3 separate regions of the Homo sapiens genome follow, and regions 2 and 3 are each linked to region 1. The links are contacts of gene promoters, found by promoter capture Hi-C in blood cells and fetal thymus (Javierre and others, 2016). All regions are on one chromosome and are shown on one strand. The core of a region is centred on a gene start or on the middle of the fragment in contact, and the rest is flanking DNA. Distances in the headings are between cores, read along the strand shown. Region 1 holds the start of SH3KBP1 (SH3 domain containing kinase binding protein 1). Region 2 has its middle 6.8 kb from the start of PDHA1. Region 3 overlaps PDHA1 (pyruvate dehydrogenase E1 subunit alpha 1).

Region 1 (2,596 bases), core at 57-2,556:
CAGAAATCCCAGGACGGTAACCAATTTACAAGAGTTGCCCCGCCAACACAGGTGAGGTATGGAGACAGCCCCTCTCTTGGGTAGGGGGTCGGCTTTCATTTGTCCCTTTTGAGTCCACTAGCCCTCAGCCTCCTCCATTTCCAGGGGCCACTGATGTAATTTCTCTATTGTCTTACGTGCTCTTTGCCTAAATGTCTCCCATGTAGTTCACTATCGCTTCCTACCACCAGATGGTGGAAAGGGAAAAGGAAATAACGGGCCGGTAGAGGAATGTGGTGGCAGGCAGAGTATCTATGGCGAAAGGTGTGGTGGTGAATGGACCCAAAACGGAGCTTCTGAATTGCCCACGAATGCCCACGGATTCCCTGTTAACATTTTAGCGCCCACTCAAGGGTCGGCCGTCCAGGTCTGGGAGTCAGTAAGGCACAATAATGCCTGCTAGGGAGGGAGCCAGCCCTCATCTCAGCGGATTCCTGGGAACGTCAGAGCTCGGGAACATTCCTGAACACCCGAACCGCACCTGGCCCAGGCACTGGGGCGGGGCTTAGGCGGGTCCCAGCGAGGCGATGCGTCCCCTCGGCCCCGCTGCGTCCTTCGCCCGTTTTTCCCCACGTCAGTGCCACCGCCTCCTCTGTGCGGAACTCGCACCTGGCCTGCCTGCGTTCCCACGCCCCACCGAAGGGACGCCGCGTTTCTCTCCCTTCCAAGGGACCCTTTTCCTTCCCCTCCAACAGCCCCCCGGGAAAACTCATTCCAGATTGCCTCGATGCCCCAGGGCCACCTGCCATCACCCTGGTCAGGCGTTTGGCCCCGGGCCTGCCCTGGTCTCCATCCCCAGCCCGTCCTCCACCTCTTGTCGCCCCCTCCCGCTCAGCCCCCTTCTCCTCCTTCTCCACGTGCCCCTGCACTCCCACGCCCCTCCCCCAAGAAGCCCCTCTCCTCCGGTCTCGAGGAGTCTCGCGGCACTTCCCGGGGCGTCAGCCCAGCCGCTGCGGGTGGGTGGCAGCCGCGCGGAGAGGGGTGCCTCTGGCGCGGGCGGTGAGGAGGGCGCCCAAGCCCCTCAGCCGCAGGGACGCCCCCGGCGCCTGCCCCGACGCGGCCCCGGCCCCGGCCCCGCCCCTCTCCGGCCCCGCCCCCGCCCGGCGGCCGCGCGTCCCCGGCAGGCGGAGCTGCAGGAGCCTCGCGGCAGCGCTGAGGAGGAGGGGAGAGCGGGCGGCGCGGCCGCGGCTGCCGGGCGCTGGGCTGGGCGGCGCTGTTTTTTTTTTTTTTTTTTTTTTTTTTTTTTTTTTTTTTTTTTTTTTTTTCGCAATTTCCACTCGCGGGGAGCAGGAAACCCGGCGCAGCCGGGCGCATTGGGCCGCGATGCAACAGCAGCAGCAGGAGTCGCCCCGGGGCAGCAGCGGCAGCAGCAGCAGAGGCAGCAGCGGGCGGCGCTGAGCCGCCGCCGCCGCCACTGAGGAAGAAGCCGGCCCAGCCGCCGCCGCGTCCGGACCCTCGCGCCTGGATCCCAGCGCCCCGATCCCGGCGCCCCAACCCCCACGCCCGCCTCCGCCAACTTTCACGCTGCCTCGGCGGCCCGGCCCGGCTCGACGCCAATGGGTGAGTGGGGGCCGCCCGCGTCCGGGCGTCCACTTCAGCCTTGAGGGCGGCGCGCCAGTCCCAGAACCGCGGAGCCCGGGAGGGCGCCCCGGGGGCAGGGTCCGGACGGGGGACACCGCGGTGGGCGCCCTCGCCTGCCTCGCGCACCCCCATTCACTCCCACTTGCGCCCGTGTGCCCGCCGAGCCCGCGCGCGGCGCCGACGGGAACCCGCGGGGGCCTGAGCAGACGATCACGGGGGCTGGCCCCGGGCGGCTCGGGCTGAGGGATGCAGGGGGTGTGGTTGGTTTTTCGGGTGGGCGGGGAGAGTTTTGTCTTGGCCATTTTTGCACCCGAGCGCGCCCTCCTCTGCGCTGCGGACACGGGCACCCGGACCTGGTGGGCTCCGGCCCTGCGCGGGGCTGCTGGTGTCTTCCTGGTCCTGTCTCGGGGGAAGCTGGAACCTCGGGGTCTTGGAGGGGGCTGGGTTGCCTTTGCTGGGGGTTGACAGGGGTTGGGGGGTGGGGCGGGAAACGCCCCAGTTCCTGGTCTGGCTCGCAGTCCCGGGGTCCAGAGCACCTGACGCTCCTCTCCTTGCGCCCCCCTTCCTCCCGGCCCCGACCCTTTCGCTGCTGCCTTCCTCCAGCCTGGCGAGCTCTCTGCTCCGTGATGCTAAAAGGCCACTTCCCATACTGTCCTTTAAGTCTTCAGGGTCTGGGACCTGGAAATGGTGATCCGGTCTTTGATTTACTGAGTAAACATCAGTTCGAAGTAGCCAACTAACCTTTGAACCCCCTGGGTCCCATTTGATTTAGACCCCGGAGCATTGGAACCACCTTGCTGCCCAGAGAAGCTGCCACTTTATTGGCAAGGCACTTATGATTACTTGGGCTATTAAATGTTTGGTCTACCCAGGTAATGTTCTTGCTGACAGCCAGCTTCTGTTTTTCAGCCTCTGGCAGATTATTTTTGGATGTTCCTAGGCCAGGCATAGGAAGGCTGCAGATAATAATAAATCA
Region 2 (2,596 bases), core at 52-2,551, 550 kb after region 1:
GGGGTGTTCCCTTCAACCTCTTCCATCAGGGTGCTAATTCCATTCAAAGGGGCCTGGGGGAGTGGGGCAGAGCTCCATCCTCATCATCTAATCACCTCCCAAAGGCCCCGCTTCCTGATACCCTCACATTGGAGGTTAAGTTTCAGTAGATGAATTTTAGGGGGCACATTCAGACCTCAGCACTGAGGAGGAGACCTTCTAGCTGTGGTCTGAGCGCTGAGCACGAGGTTGGCAATAGATTGTCCTGGTCCTGTTAGACCTCATTAAAGATTTAGACACTTTTCCTAAGAATAATGGGAAGCCAGAGAAGGATGTTCATGTCAGCTTTGCATTTTGTAAATATGGAAGATGAGCTGTGCCCTCTCATGACAGGATCCTAAAGGAAATTAATGGAAGGAGGTGCCATAGTGTGTTCAGGAGAGCACGGGGTTCCTGAATCTAAGATAGGTGAACCACAGTGAGTATGAGCATATCTTTCTATATGATTTTTAAAATAGAGACAGGGTCTCGCTATGTTGCCCAGGCAAGTCTCGAACTCCTGGGCTCAAGCGATCCTCCCACCTCAACCTCACAAAGTGCTGAAATCAAAGGCATGATCCACTGCACTCGGCCCATCATGTCTTTCTATTATCCAATGGAGATATGTGGAAAAATACATATTTTAATAGGGAAGATTTTAGGCACACACTGATGAGTCTGGCCTGAAGTTACTATCAATCATTTTCTGTGGCTGATCCCCAAACGGAAGCAGCCTTTGGAAACCTAAGAACTGTCCTACGGAGAGGCGGCCTAGCATCTGGACTCTGGCACCAGTCTGCCTGGTCTCAAATCCTGGCTCAACGACTTACCAGCTGTGTGACCTCGGGCAATTTGCCTAAACTCTCTGTGCTTCGGTTTCCTCGTCTTTAAATGGAGCATAATGACAACATTCATCTCATAGGGCTGGCTGTCATAAAGCTTATATGGATTAATATTTGTCAGGCACTTAAGACAGAGCCCCATCCTTAATGAGCACTATACTAGAATCTTGTGACTATAAGTAAATATGCAAATCTTTTCACTTCTTGGTGACCTGGGTCCTCACTGGTAAAGCAAAGCTTAGAAATTTCTATCTTCTGGCTTGGAGCAGTGGCTCACGCCTGTAATCCCAGCACTTTGGGAAGCTGAGGTGCCACTGACCCCTTCTTCCAAATGTATTATTTTGTCTCTTGTCTTTTATTCCCACGTTCAGTCCCCTTTGTTCAGTCCCCCTAGGTCCGTGCGGGTTACACTGAGCCAGGGAGGGTACACTTGAACCCAGGAGGCAGAGGTTGCAGTGAGCTGAGATCACGCCACTGCACTCCAGCCTGGGTGACAGAGTGAGACTTCGTCTCAAAAAAATATATATATATGCAGTTGGCTCAAAAGACTCTCAGGGCCGCCAGCCCTCGTGTGAATAGAGTCTAACCGTCTGACAAGCCACCTGTTTGGGTCTGCCTGGGATCAACACTTCATGAAGAAGCTTGTCACGGTTCCCAGAAGGAGAGAACAGGCCCTTGCCAAGCTTAAGGGAACAGGATGTATGGCACATTTTGTGCCTGCATAAATAAATGATCTGGATAGAATTCTGTCTATGACTTCTTTTTTTGTAGCATAATAGGTTATAGAGAAGGAAGGAGACAAAGAGCTTCATCTGCTTTAATTGTGGGACACAACCCTATTTATCCAACTGACATGGTGTCAAAGGGCCACATTCATTCACTCGTCCAACAGATATTTCAAGAGTGCCTATTCTAGGATGCAGGGCTATAAAAACCAGACAAAACCCTACATTGTAAAGTGACTTAGATCAGGTTGTAAAAACTGTTTTCAAAAGCAACTGGTAGATTTAATCAAAAGATATCCCGAGCTGCACACAGTGGCACATGCCTGTGGTCCCAGCTACTCAGGAGTCGGGAGGATCACTTGAGCACAGAGTTTGAGACCAGCCTGGGCAACATAGTGAGACCCCAACTCAAAAAAAAAAAAGGTATCCTGAGTTCTTTGGAAAGGCTCCAGAAAGCCAAGATTTCAAATCTCTACAGTTCTTCAAAGATGAAAGAATTGCGAAAATCATATAGGAAAGAACCCACTTATGTGGGCAACTAAAATTTAAGGAGTTGAGGACTTAGTAATTCTCAAAGTGCACCTCAGACAAGCAGCATCAACACAAACTGGGAAATCTGTTAGAAATGCACGTTCCCAGACCCCATCCCAAACCTCCTGAATAAGAAACTCTGGGAGTGGAAACCTGCAATCTTTGATTTAAAAAGTTCTCCGGGCTGGACACGTTGGCTCACGCCTGTAATCCCAGCATTTTGGGCGGCTGAGGTGGGAGGACTGCTTGAGGTCAGGCATTTGAGACCAGCCTGGCCAACATGGTGAAACCCCACTGCTACTAAAAATACAAAAATTAGTTGGGCGTGGTGGTGCACCTGTGGTCCCACCTACTTGGGAGGCTGAGGCAGGAGAATCGCTTGAGACTGGGAGGTTAAGACTGCAGTGAACTGTGATCACACCACTGCCCTCCAGCCTGGGTGCTAGAGCAAGACCCTGTCTCAGAAATAAAATAAAATAA
Region 3 (2,596 bases), core at 97-2,596, 530 kb after region 1:
CAATTAAGGTATATAACACTCTTTCTTTAAAAATTGCTGCTTGTGCTCACACACACTATACACTGTAGGCATTTTCAGAAAGCTTTCTTATTAGGAGGCACTGCTTTCAGATAACTTGATGCCCAACACAACTGCGTACATGAAGTGAACTGGTATCTAGCTCCAAAAGCAAATACTGAAATGTGTTGCTTTTGCCATGTAACACCATTCAAAGCCCACCCCTATGGAAACCACACTGCCCATGAGCGTACCTGACTCCAGGGTCACTCATACTGTGTCCGTGGTAACGGTAAGTCTGCAGCTCCATCAGGATGGGCCCCTAAAACAGAACCGGTAGGCAGTTAGTTAGTTAGGAACGATGACTGGAAGAACAGGCCGGCAATCCACGGCCTCAAACGCAGGCCCTTTATTAAGCGTCCAGTGTAGTCTTATCAGATCTTCTGAGTTGTCACGAATTTCTTATTGGTTGACTGATCTGTTCTCATTTCTAGCAAGTATTGATTGCATATTTCATCTTTCTCATTTTTAATAAGGCAATCTGCCAACAGCTTGTTTTGAATCAAAAAGGCTTTGAAGGCCAGGCATGGTGGCTCATGCCTGTAATCCCAGCACTTTGGGAAGCTGAGGTGGGCAGAGCACTTGCGCCCAGGAGTTCGAGACTAGCCTGGACAACATGGCAAAACCCCATCTCTATCAAAAAATACAAAAATTAGCCAGGCATGGTGGCGTGCGCCTGTAGTCCCAGCTACTTGGGAGGATCACCTGATTCTGGAAGGTCAAGGGTGCAGTGAGCTGTGAGTGTGCCACTGCGCGAGACCCTGTGAAAAAAGAAAAAGGCTCTGAGCATGTTCTAGAGCCTCCTGCTATTGGCTAGACAGATTTCCATCTCATGCTCCTTTCTCATGGTGTGTTGTGGGGCTGGCAGCCACTCCTACTTCACAGACCTTGCTAGTGTGTAACAAAGTTGGCAGGCACCAACAACCTCTGCTACCCAAACCCCAAGGCTCTGCTGGGAGTCTGGACAGTTGGGCTCGCTCATTCTACACTAGCCCACTTCCAGGAGACGGCTCTGAACACTGGGGTGGAGAAACATTGAGGATCCTTGGTTGGTTTGGTGCAGCAGTTAAAATGGGCGAGTGGGGAGCTGGCTCCAAGACAGAGTAGCTGTGTACCTTTAACTGCTCTATGGCTCAGTTTCCTTGTCTGCAAAATGGGCAAAACAATAACACCTAACTCAGAATTGTGAAGGTTATCTGTTTGGGAAAGTCACACATTCTACAACTACATTCTACAACTCCCCTTGTCTCCAGCCAGGGCTGGCCCCCATGTATTCTTTTCAGGAATTGGGAGAGGTGGCGTCAATACCCATCACTCAGGGCCTGGCACTCCCAGCCTTAGGGTCCTGACATAGACTGCTCAGCCCATTGTACCCAAGCTGTAGTCTTGGTCCTGCTCTAGTTCATTCTACTCATTAGCTCTTATTTAATGTTACTACATTCCCACCCTCACTTCCCTGTCTCTCCACTTTGTGACATTTCCATCATTGCTGGCCACATCTGATTCACATCACTGCCTAAACGTACATGGTATGGCGCTGAAGTGCCAACTTCAGAAACCTTGTTTCTGGGCTGTAGAACACTGATTTAGGGAGAACACCCAAACCTCCTAAGCCTATACTAGTGCCAAAGGAAGTGAAACCTCTTTAGGCCAGTCTCCCTCTTACCATCTCCCTCACTGCCATACACTGAAAAGGGAAAGATCCTTAGGACTGAGCAAGACTAAGATTACGAGCTTCTACCATACTGTTTAATTTGTATAAGACACACATATTAAATGCCTATTGTATACATGACATTCTATGCTGGACACTGTGGGGATCCCCAATCTGTTCCTTCAAGGGACTCATGATTAATGGGGGGTGGGGAGGAGGGACAGAATTAACCTAAGGAAAAGGCAAATCAGTTGTCATGAAGACAGGCCAAAGCAGAGGAAGCACCAGAACGGACTTCCCCCAAATGAGAGAAACGTAGGCTTCCCAGCAGGTGAGCTACCAAGACCAAGCTACCCAAAGGAGCCCTGCTCCCTTCACTCTGCTTCCATCTCATGCACCTCAATTAGCAGGTACCCACTAACAGCTTCAGCAGGCACATGGGAGGCAGTCTTTGAACTTCCAGAGATAAATGTCACTAGCCCAGAGGGCTTTAGAGCCTTACCTTCCCAGATCTACAATAGGCAGCAGCAAACCTTGTTGCCTCTCGGACGCACAGGATATCCATTCCATCCACCTGGTAATAAACAGGGGAGGGGCGAAGCATGAATCCAACTGCCCCAAACCATTTTACTTTCACATGACCTGCTCCTGTATGAGAATGAAACTCTCCAATGTTTCTAAGATCGTCAAGGGTCTGCACAAGGACATACCCTTGGCCTTGGCCTTGGCCCCGGCCCCACCACAGGTGTCCTTACTCTCAGCCCAGGAATGAAATCGCCTCTCTTGTAGTAATCAGTGCTGGCTGCCGCTCTCTCAACAGACGTTCCCATTCCATAGCGATTATTCTCACAGATGAAAATACAAGGTAATTTCCACAAAGCTGCC

The links. The method cuts DNA at HindIII sites, captures the fragments that hold promoters and counts their contacts. A CHiCAGO score of 5 or more calls a contact.
Region 2: a fragment that was not itself captured here is called in contact with the fragment with the promoter of SH3KBP1 in region 1 in 1 of 17 cell types (neutrophils); the score reaches 5.6 in neutrophils.
Region 3: a contact is called between a fragment that was not itself captured here and the fragment with the promoter of SH3KBP1 in region 1, in 5 of 17 cell types (neutrophils, total CD8 T cells, M1 macrophages and 2 more). The highest score is 10.4, in neutrophils.

What each region holds. Positions count from the first base shown.
Region 1 is chrX:19,886,310-19,888,905 of GRCh38, reverse strand. It overlaps SH3KBP1 (SH3 domain containing kinase binding protein 1), which reads left to right and starts at 1,306. Exons shown (of 18, transcript NM_031892.3): 1 at 1,306-1,599. The coding sequence starts at 1,596. RefSeq lists silencers at 855-1,154, 1,215-1,284, 1,765-1,904. The HindIII fragment of the contact is 9,463 bases long and covers 1-2,596 here.
Region 2 is chrX:19,335,840-19,338,435 of GRCh38, reverse strand. No RefSeq gene overlaps it. Among named protein-coding and RNA genes, the nearest start is that of PDHA1, 6.8 kb to the left of the region's middle. The HindIII fragment of the contact is 404 bases long and covers 1,100-1,503 here.
Region 3 is chrX:19,355,375-19,357,970 of GRCh38, reverse strand. It overlaps PDHA1 (pyruvate dehydrogenase E1 subunit alpha 1), which reads right to left. Exons shown (of 11, transcript NM_000284.4): 7 at 2,467-2,596; 8 at 2,214-2,285; 9 at 252-319. Among named protein-coding and RNA genes, the nearest start is that of PDHA1, 13 kb to the right of the region's middle. The HindIII fragment of the contact is 2,524 bases long and covers 85-2,596 here.